2 separate regions of the Homo sapiens genome follow, and region 1 is linked to region 2. Evidence: promoter capture Hi-C in human tissues and cell types (Jung and others, 2019). All regions are on one chromosome and are shown on one strand. The core of a region is centred on a gene start or on the middle of the fragment in contact, and the rest is flanking DNA. Distances in the headings are between cores, read along the strand shown. Region 1 overlaps PKD2 (polycystin 2, transient receptor potential cation channel). Region 2 holds the start of HERC6 (HECT and RLD domain containing E3 ubiquitin protein ligase family member 6).

Region 1 (4,622 bases), core at 1,218-3,717, 340 kb after region 2:
TTGGAAGTTGGGGCAAGGAGGAAACATGGCTCAAAAATGACTCTGGAGTCTCTTTCAGGGCAATAGGAAGACGGCAGTGCCATTAACAGAACAAAGAGCAGATCTCATAAGAAAACGATGAGTTTAGTTTGGGGCATATTAAATCACAAGAGGTGTGGGACATCCAGGTGGAATAGAGATGTGTCTTGTATCACTAGAATGCAAGCTCTGTGAAGAAAGGACGTTTCTTCTGTTTCCTGCTGCTTTGTTTCTCCAGCATCAAGGGCACTACTAGAAGAGGGGGGACTTCTAGCAATGGGAACATGCCTGGCACATTGTTGAAGAAATGATGAGTCACCAAATAAAGATGTCAGTGGAAGCCATCTGAATGTCATGGGAAAGAGAGAAAAGAAAGAAAAGACGGAGATATGAATATAGAACCTGGGAATAAGAGAAGTGAGAGAAAGGGGTTTCAGAGTTAAAAGAACCCAAAGTGTAGAGTTCTTCATGGAAGTCAAAAGAATGAGCGGTCAACACTGCCACTTTCTGCAGACAGTATGAAGGGGATAAAAACTGAGATTTGTTCAGTGGATTTGCTAACTAGAGGTCCCTAGTAGCTTCCTGGTGAGATGTCAAAAGCAAGAACCTAAGCTTTAAGACGTGAATTGATGGTAAGGAAATGGAAGTGGCAAATGAAGACTATTCTTCCAAGAAGTTTGGAGTTGAAGGGAAGAAGAAATGGGAGTGACTTGAGAATGTAGAAGAATAAAAGGATAGTTTAGATATGACAGGGAAGGTCCCCTTTGGCAATCCACCCTGGAGTAGAAATCACTCGAATGCATCCAGCACATATTTATTAGTATCTTTACATATGAGGCATTGTTCAAGGCTTTGAGAATACAGCAGTTAACAAAATAGAATCCCTGCCCTCAGGAAGCTTGAGTACTGATGGGGAGCTGAGAGCGTCGACAAGCCACCCTAACGACGCAATTAATATGGAGGAGGAATTAATATGGAAGAGGTTTAGTAGGCGAAACATGGGTTTTGGAGTCAGGCTGCTTAAATCTTGGTTCAGTCCAATTTGTTAGCTGTGACACTTTGGGCAAGTGAGCCTCAGTTTTTTCATCTATAAAATGGAGGTGATACCTATTTTAGAGTTGTTTTGTGAAGGCAGATGAGATAATGCGTGAAATAACTTCTTAAATAATGTCTGGCACAGAGCAGTGGCTGTATAAATTTATCTTATTAGTGATGTGAGATAAATAAAATATTGGAAAGGGTACCACAGATGAAGGCATGCTTATGCTTTGCAGGAACTACAAAAAGGCACATTAGAAAGCAAAATAAAGCTGGGCATGGTGGCATATTCTCATAGTCCCAGCTACTTGGGAGGCTGAGGCTGGAGGACTGCTTGAGCCCAGGAGTTTGAGGCCAGCCTGGGCAACATCAAGAAACTCTATCTGTAATAATTTTTTTTTTAAAGAAAGCGAAATCACTATCATAACTTGGATGATAATGTCCTTTGAGACTATTTAGTTCCTTTGTTCTAAAGCTCTGGATTTTCACTAAATTTGTTTTTTTTTTTTTTTGAGGGGGAGTCTTGCTCTGTTGCCCAGGCTGGAGTGCAATGATGAGACCTCAGCTCACTGCAACCCCCACCACTCGGGCTCAAGCAATTCTCCTGCCTCAGCCTCCCGAATAGCTGTGACTATAGGCACATGTCACCACACCCAGCTAATTTTTGTATTTTTAGTAGAGTCAGGGTTTCACCATGTTGGCTAGGCTGGTCTTGAACTCCTGACCTCAAGTGATCTGTCCGCCTTGGCTTTCCAAAGTGCTGGGATTACAGGCATGAGAAACTGTGCCCAACCTGGATTTTTACTAAATTTGTTTCTTATGGGTTCTGGTATTAAATAGAGTGTATACTGGAAGGTACAAGAAGAATATACTAATTGAAAAGGTGATTGCCCATTGTATAGTAACAAATGTGGATTCTGGGCAACTCAGTTTCCAAGAAAAGAACCTAGATGAACCGACAGAATTAGCTGAGCAAAGCTTAGAAGATGACTCCGACCAGTGACGTACCCAGGGACAGCAACCGCAAAGGCCCACCCTGAAACGGCCTTGGAGGTCTTCTTGTTTCTTTATAATAACTACAATACTTCTAAAATAGTAAGTGACCTCCCTTAATACACAAGATGTTTGAAGTAGGAGTACCAAAGTGTACAAAAAGCCCCTGTAAATATGCACGTGTACAAATATATACCTAAAATCTCAAACATTTGAACAAAATGGGCTTTAAACCTAACAAAAAATTGCCTCACAAGCTTACACATTAAATAACTCCATTCTGAACAAAAACCTGTTTGCAAGACCTATAAAAAGAGTTCCTGAACCAGAAAACTTGTGTTAAATAACTTAGTGGATGATGTTACTGCACCTGTAAAAACAGGGCCCAGGGCATCTTAAATGAAATTTTCAAACGCTCAGATAATTAATTTTTGAGGGGTTATATGGTCAACGATTTAGTCTTCTGAAAAATATGCATGTAGAAACTAAAAGAAGGCTAAGAAGTAGTGAAAACTTAAGAAGTCAAAGGTCAAGTTGGCCAAGGTTTAAATATAAGCACTGAAGAGTCACTGAACTTATTTTTGCCTTGGTGAAGGTGTCAGGGAATGAATGAATGAATGGTGGGAGTTCAGAGAATAAATGAATGAATATCACCGAGTGGCAATGAGTCACAGACACTTACGCGGTTCCATTTCGGGGCCCAAAGGGAGCCCTATCTTCACTACTGACAGAGTAGACATCATAGCACTCTTTAATTTCATCTCTCAAGTCCTGGGGGATAGAGCAGGATCCATTTCTGACTCGGAGTTGCCGTATTCGTGGAACCCCTAACAGCAGGTTCTCATAGAAGATGAAACTTCGGTTGTCAGCTTCAGTCTGGTTGCTGGGCTGCATCTTCCAGTACAGCCCATCCAATAAGGAGCCTTCTGTGAACTAAAAGCAAAGGAAACATCTCTGAAAAAGTTCCAAGCTCAGCCGCTGTCTTGCCCCTGCCTGCATCGTTTGCATAACCAAGCATTTGGCAACTCTATGAAAATAGTAGAGTGATAAGAATGAGTTTTGTTGTCAGAGAGATTTGGGATAGCATCTTGCCCCATCATTTGTTAGCTATGAGGCCTTGAGCAGGGTCCTCTGAACCAAGGTTCTTGCATCTGGAAAACCCATCTTTTGCATAGTTACTGCACCTGGCACAGAGTGGGTACTTAATACGTGGCAGCTCTGATTTTTGTTCTTGGACTAAAGGTGGGGTCATGATTAACTGCACTTTCCCTTATTAAAATAATGTCCCACACAATCATGGTTCTAAACTTTGTTTAGAGAAAAGGCTACAGTTTTGATTACCAGCCTGGCATTTGATAGACCTTTCACCTGTCTGGACTATTTTGCTGTATGGTGAACTCTCCAATCCCTCCTCGTCCCTTTAGTGATTGGCATTTATCATCATGGAATGTGTATACAAAAGTCTCTTGTTAGTTTGTACAACTAGCTATGCCTGTAGGGAAGACAGATCTATTTCTCAGTGTGCTATCCTTGTCAGATGATCAACAGAGATAGACTGATTTGCCCTACTCAGATGGTGAAAGATTCATATTATACAAGTGTGGTTTTGGATGCCAGGTACTTTTATATATGAATAGTTTCCTGTGACTCAGTTGTCTCTATCCTTAAAATCAACAGCTCTGACCCCAGGGTGTAGTAAGAATTTTAGAAACTATCTCCCCAAGGAGAAATAATAATTTCCTTTTCAATTTCCCTTCCAATTTTCTTAGATTCCAAGCCCCATATCCCTCAGATCAGTTTAATATTTTTCCTGTGGTATCACTCATTGGTATACTGTTAACTACGTTGGAATTTGTGACAACTTGGGAAGGGGCTGGATTGGGTTGAACTTCACAACAGCAGACCTTTTTTGTTTGTTTTTGGGTTTTTTTTTGGGGGGGATTTTTTTTGAGAAAGGGTCTCACTCTGTTGCCCCAGCTGGAATGCAGTAGCATGGCCATGGCTCACTGCAGCCTTGACCTCAAGCAATCGCTCAAGTGATTCTCCCACCTCAGCCTCCTGAGTAGCTGGGACTGCAGGTGTGTACCACCACACCCTGCTAATTCTTTAACTTTTTTGGAGAGACAAAGTCATACTATGTTGTGCCCAGCTGGTTTCAAAATCCTGGGCTAAAGCAATCCTCCTGCCTTGGCCTCCCAAAGTGCTGGGATTACAGGCGTGAGCCACCAAGCCCCACCAACAGCAGACCTTTGAAAGAATGTGCTTACTTTGAATCAAGCACTGTTCTAAGAGCTGGGGATACATGCCATCATCAACAAAGAGACAAAACACAAAAGGCGAAGCAAGACAGAAGAACCACACTGCCCTTCATTGGCCTTACATTCTAGGAGATTCTCAATAAATATTTATTGAATCTTGACTCATGGAATGAATTACAAACTAGGATGAAGTAGCTGTCAGGCTAGAAAAAAATCAATTTTTCTTGTTCCCTAGCCATGTGACCATACGCATTTAAACATCCTGAATCTCATTTTCCTCATTAACAAACTAGGGCATAGTCTTAGTACTTACCT
Region 2 (4,314 bases), core at 1,711-4,210:
GGCCGAGGCGGGTGGATCACGAGGTCAGGAGTTTGAGACCAGCCTGACCAACATAGTGAAACCCCGTCTCTACTAAAAATATAAAAATTAGCTGGGCATGGTGGTGAGTGCCTGTAATCCCTGCTACTTGGGAGGCTGAGGCAGAAGAACCGTTTGAACTGGGGAGGCGGAGGTTGCAGTGAGCCGAGATAGTGCCATTGCACTACAGCCTGGTGACAGGGCAAAACCCCATCTCAAAAAAAAAAAAAAAAAAAAAAGAAGAGAAGGGTCACCTAAGATGAAGACTTGGCACTGAGGTGAGCCTGCATAAACAAGTCAATTAAAATAACCCTTATCTTCCATTAGATTTTCCCATATATTTTCTAGTCACTTTCCCTGAGTTCATCATCCTTTAAAGTCCAAACCCCCTTTTCTTTGTTAAACATGGTACACAAGCTCCTAAGTCGAAGCACTTGAGTTTCACTTCTATTCTGTAAATTCCCACGCATGTAAATTCCCCTATATGTAAAAGATTAATAAAATTGTATGCTTTTTCTCCTGTCAATCTGTCTTTTGTCAGTTAAGTTTGCAGGACCCAGCCGCTGAACCTAAGAGGGTAGAGGAAAAATTTTCCTCCTCCACACACCTTTTGAAACTATTCTCAGCAGGTCATCAAAAATGTAGTCAAATATTTGCTTACGAGAATATCAATCAGTATTATTTATAAAAGCCCCTAGTGGGAAACAATCTAATTTCCACAAAAAGAGAATAATTATGGTACTCTCAGAGTTTAGAATGTTATGCAGCAATTTAAAACATATTTTCAAAACATACAAAATGAAAGGGTAATATGTTCATAAGATTATGCTTGATGAAAACACAATGTACAGAGTTGCATAAATACTGCATATACAAATCTATAATGACATGATTTTTATAAAGATTAAATATGTACATAGAAAAAAGTAGACAAGGAGAAAATGCATCAAAATGTTAGGAGTTATCTTTGGGTGTTGGAGCTACGGTGATTGCTTTCTCGTATTTCTACAATAATCCATAACGATTATTGTATTATCTCACATATATAATATATATATTTATTATTATTATGTTTTTTGAGACAGAGTCTTGCTCTGTTGCCAGGCTGGAGTGCAGTGTCGCGATTTCGGCTCACTGCAACCTCTGCCTCCCGGGTTCAAGCGATTCCCCTGCCTCAGCCTCCCAAGTAGCTGGGACTACAGGCGCCCGCCACCACGCCCAGTTTATTTTTTGTATTTTAGTAGAGATGGGGTTTCATCATATTGGCCAGGGTGGTCTCGATTTCCTGACCTCGTGCTCCGCCCGCCTCGGCCTCCCAAAGTGCTGGGATCACAGGCGTAAGCCACCGCGTCCGGCCTATTATGTGTATATATATATATTTATATATTATATATATATATTTATATATTATATATATATATTTATATATTATATATATATTTATATTATATATATATTTATATATTATATATATATTTATATATTATATATATATTTATATATTATATATTTATATATTATATATATTTATATATTATATATTTATATATTATATATATTTATATATTATATATTTATATATTATATATATATTTATATTATATATATATTTATATATTATATATATATTTATATATTATATATATTTATATATTATATATATTTATATATTATATATATTTATATATTATATATATATTTATATATTATATATATTTATATATTATATATATTTATATATTATATATATATTTATATATTATATATATTTATATATTATATATATTTATATATTATATATATATTTATATATTATATATATTTATATATTATATATATTTATATATTATATATATATTTATATATTATATATATTTATATATTATATATATTTATATATTATATATATATTTATATATTATATATATTTATATGCTATATATATATTTATATATTATATATATTTATATGTTATATATATATTTATATATTATATATATTTATATGTTATATATATATTTATATATTATATATATTTATATGTTATATATTTATATATTTATATATTATATATATTTATATATTATATATTTATATATTATATATTTGTATATATTTATATATTATATATATTTATATATTTTATATATATATTTTTATATATATATATTTTTTAATGCCCCAGTGTATTTCTAAGGGAGATACAGGTGTCTGACCCACAAACCACGTTTGTAAGGTCAGGCTGCCTTCTCCAGGTAGAACCGCGCAGGCGAGGATTTATCTGCAAGGCAAGCCGGAGGGACCACATCTCTTTCCAGAGCAGCGCTGACCAGGTTAGTTTCGGCTCTCAGTTTCGCTTTGAACTTGAATTGGAAACCGAAACAAATCCGAGGGGCGTTGGGAAAACGAAACTGAGGAAGTTGCTCTTCGGTAGCACAGGGCACCATTTTCCTGGTTCCTGTGGCTCTTCGGGCCCCGAGGAATCCAAGGCTCCCAGCACCCCTCCCTGCCTGGCCCGCGGCGCCCAGCATCTGAGCCGCTCCCTGCACCTGGGCCCCCGCGCCCCTCACCCGGGTCCCAGCGCTCCGCACCCGGTTCCCTGCGCCCGGTACCCAAGCCCCCGCGCCCATGTACTGGGGTCCTCACACCCTGCACCTGGGGCCCCCCGCTCACCTGGCAGCTCCCCGCGCTGCGCGCCCCTGCGGCCCAGCTGACCCCTGCTGTTGTCTCCGCACGAGAGGACCCTGTGGTTGGTCAGCAGCAGCAGAGAGTGGCGCTCCCCGCTGGCCGCCTGCAGTAGCTCAGCCCCGGGGCTGCCCGCCGTCCTCCGGCGCTGCAGCTCCCTGGAGTCGGCGCCCCAACAGAAGTACATCCCGCTTCTGCGCCCTGTCGCCTGCTCCGGATTCCGTCGGTCCCGCTGCGACAGGCTCCCGAACGCTGGTGACTGGGTGCGCGATGATTTCCTGAATATCAAGAGACTCACCCTGTCTTCAACCCGCCCCAGGGGCGCAGCCCTGGCCCCATGTCAACTCTCGCTGCCTGAACTTCAAGTGCTGAAGAGCAGAGAGGGCGTCCCAGGGAATAAAACTGAGTTTACATCCTAAGCCATTTATGAGTCGTGAATGCCACTTTGGGCAAGTTACCTAATGATTCCGTGCTTCAGCTATCATATCTACGAAATATGGACTGCAATTCAGCAAATCTAATATGTCGGGATAATTTAATAGGCACATAAAGTGTTAGAATAATACCTAGAGTGGTTAATAAAGCATCTGAGTGCCCACCTCATTCCAGACCTTTTTTGGCATTGAAAATATGTTTGTTTTTTGTTTGTTTGTTTGTTTGTTTGTTTGAGATGGAGTGTCGCTCTGCTGCTCAGGCTGGAGTGCAGTGGCACCATCTCGGCTCACTGCAACCTCCACCTCACGGGTTCAAGCTGATTCTCTTGCCTCGGCCTCCCGAGTAGGTGGGATTACAGGCATGCGCCACGACGCCCGACTTAATTTTTGTATTTTTAGTAAAGATGGGGTTTCACCATGTTGGCCAGGCTGGTCTCGAACTCCTGACCTCAAGTGATCCACCCCTCAGCTTTCCAAAGTGCAGGGATTACAGGCGTGAGCCTCTGGGCCCCGCCTGAAAATACAATTAGTGAAAGACAAGATCCTCTTGATGCGTTTACATTCTCCTGAGGGAAAGAGAACATAAACAGATAAACACATAGTGTAATATCAAGGGGCAACGAAAAATACAACAGGAACCAGAGGGTGGAGGCGGAAGGCACTGGTATTTGAGATGATATTAGGGAAGATCTCTCTGATGAAGTGATATTTGTGCAGAGAGCTGAGGGGACATGGGAAATGAGGGAATGAGTCGTGATCACACCTGAGGGCAGAGGATGAAAAGAAGCAGTTGGAAGGTTTTGAATAGAGAAGAGCCATGATCTGACTTCAGTTTTTAAAGATTCATCTGGCTGCTGTGTGAAAAATAATAGGACAAAAATGGAAGCAGAAAGCCAGTTAGCAGAGACTACTTCAGAGTTCAGGTCAGGTGATATCCTAGAAGGGAAGAGAGGAGAAGTTATTAGATTCAAGACATGTTTTGAAAGTAAGAGTCCACAGATTTGATGATGGATTAGAAATTGGGGGGAAAGAAGAAAAGGGATTAGGGATTACTCCAGGGTTGGCTTTAGGGGTTACTCCAAGGTAAACTCTACTGGACTGGGAAACCCTGAGGAAGGTGCAGGTTTAAGCTATGTGTGTCTGGAATACAGATTGGTAATGATAACTGTAAGATGCT

What was found. Contacts are between HindIII fragments. The study calls those that stand out against the background at their distance.
Region 1: a fragment that was not itself captured here is called in contact with the fragment with the promoter of HERC6 in region 2 in 1 of the 25 tissues and cell types used here (mesenchymal stem cells).

What each region holds. Positions count from the first base shown.
Region 1 is chr4:88,036,611-88,041,232 of GRCh38, reverse strand. It overlaps PKD2 (polycystin 2, transient receptor potential cation channel), which reads right to left. Exons shown (of 15, transcript NM_000297.4): 4 at 2,732-2,982. Among named protein-coding and RNA genes, the nearest start is that of PKD2, 31 kb to the right of the region's middle. The HindIII fragment of the contact is 3,387 bases long and covers 774-4,160 here.
Region 2 is chr4:88,377,498-88,381,811 of GRCh38, reverse strand. It overlaps HERC6 (HECT and RLD domain containing E3 ubiquitin protein ligase family member 6), which reads right to left and starts at 2,960. Exons shown (of 23, transcript NM_017912.4): 1 at 2,692-2,960. The coding sequence starts at 2,890. RefSeq lists an enhancer at 2,208-2,537 and a silencer at 2,548-2,737. The HindIII fragment of the contact is 12,273 bases long and covers 1-4,314 here.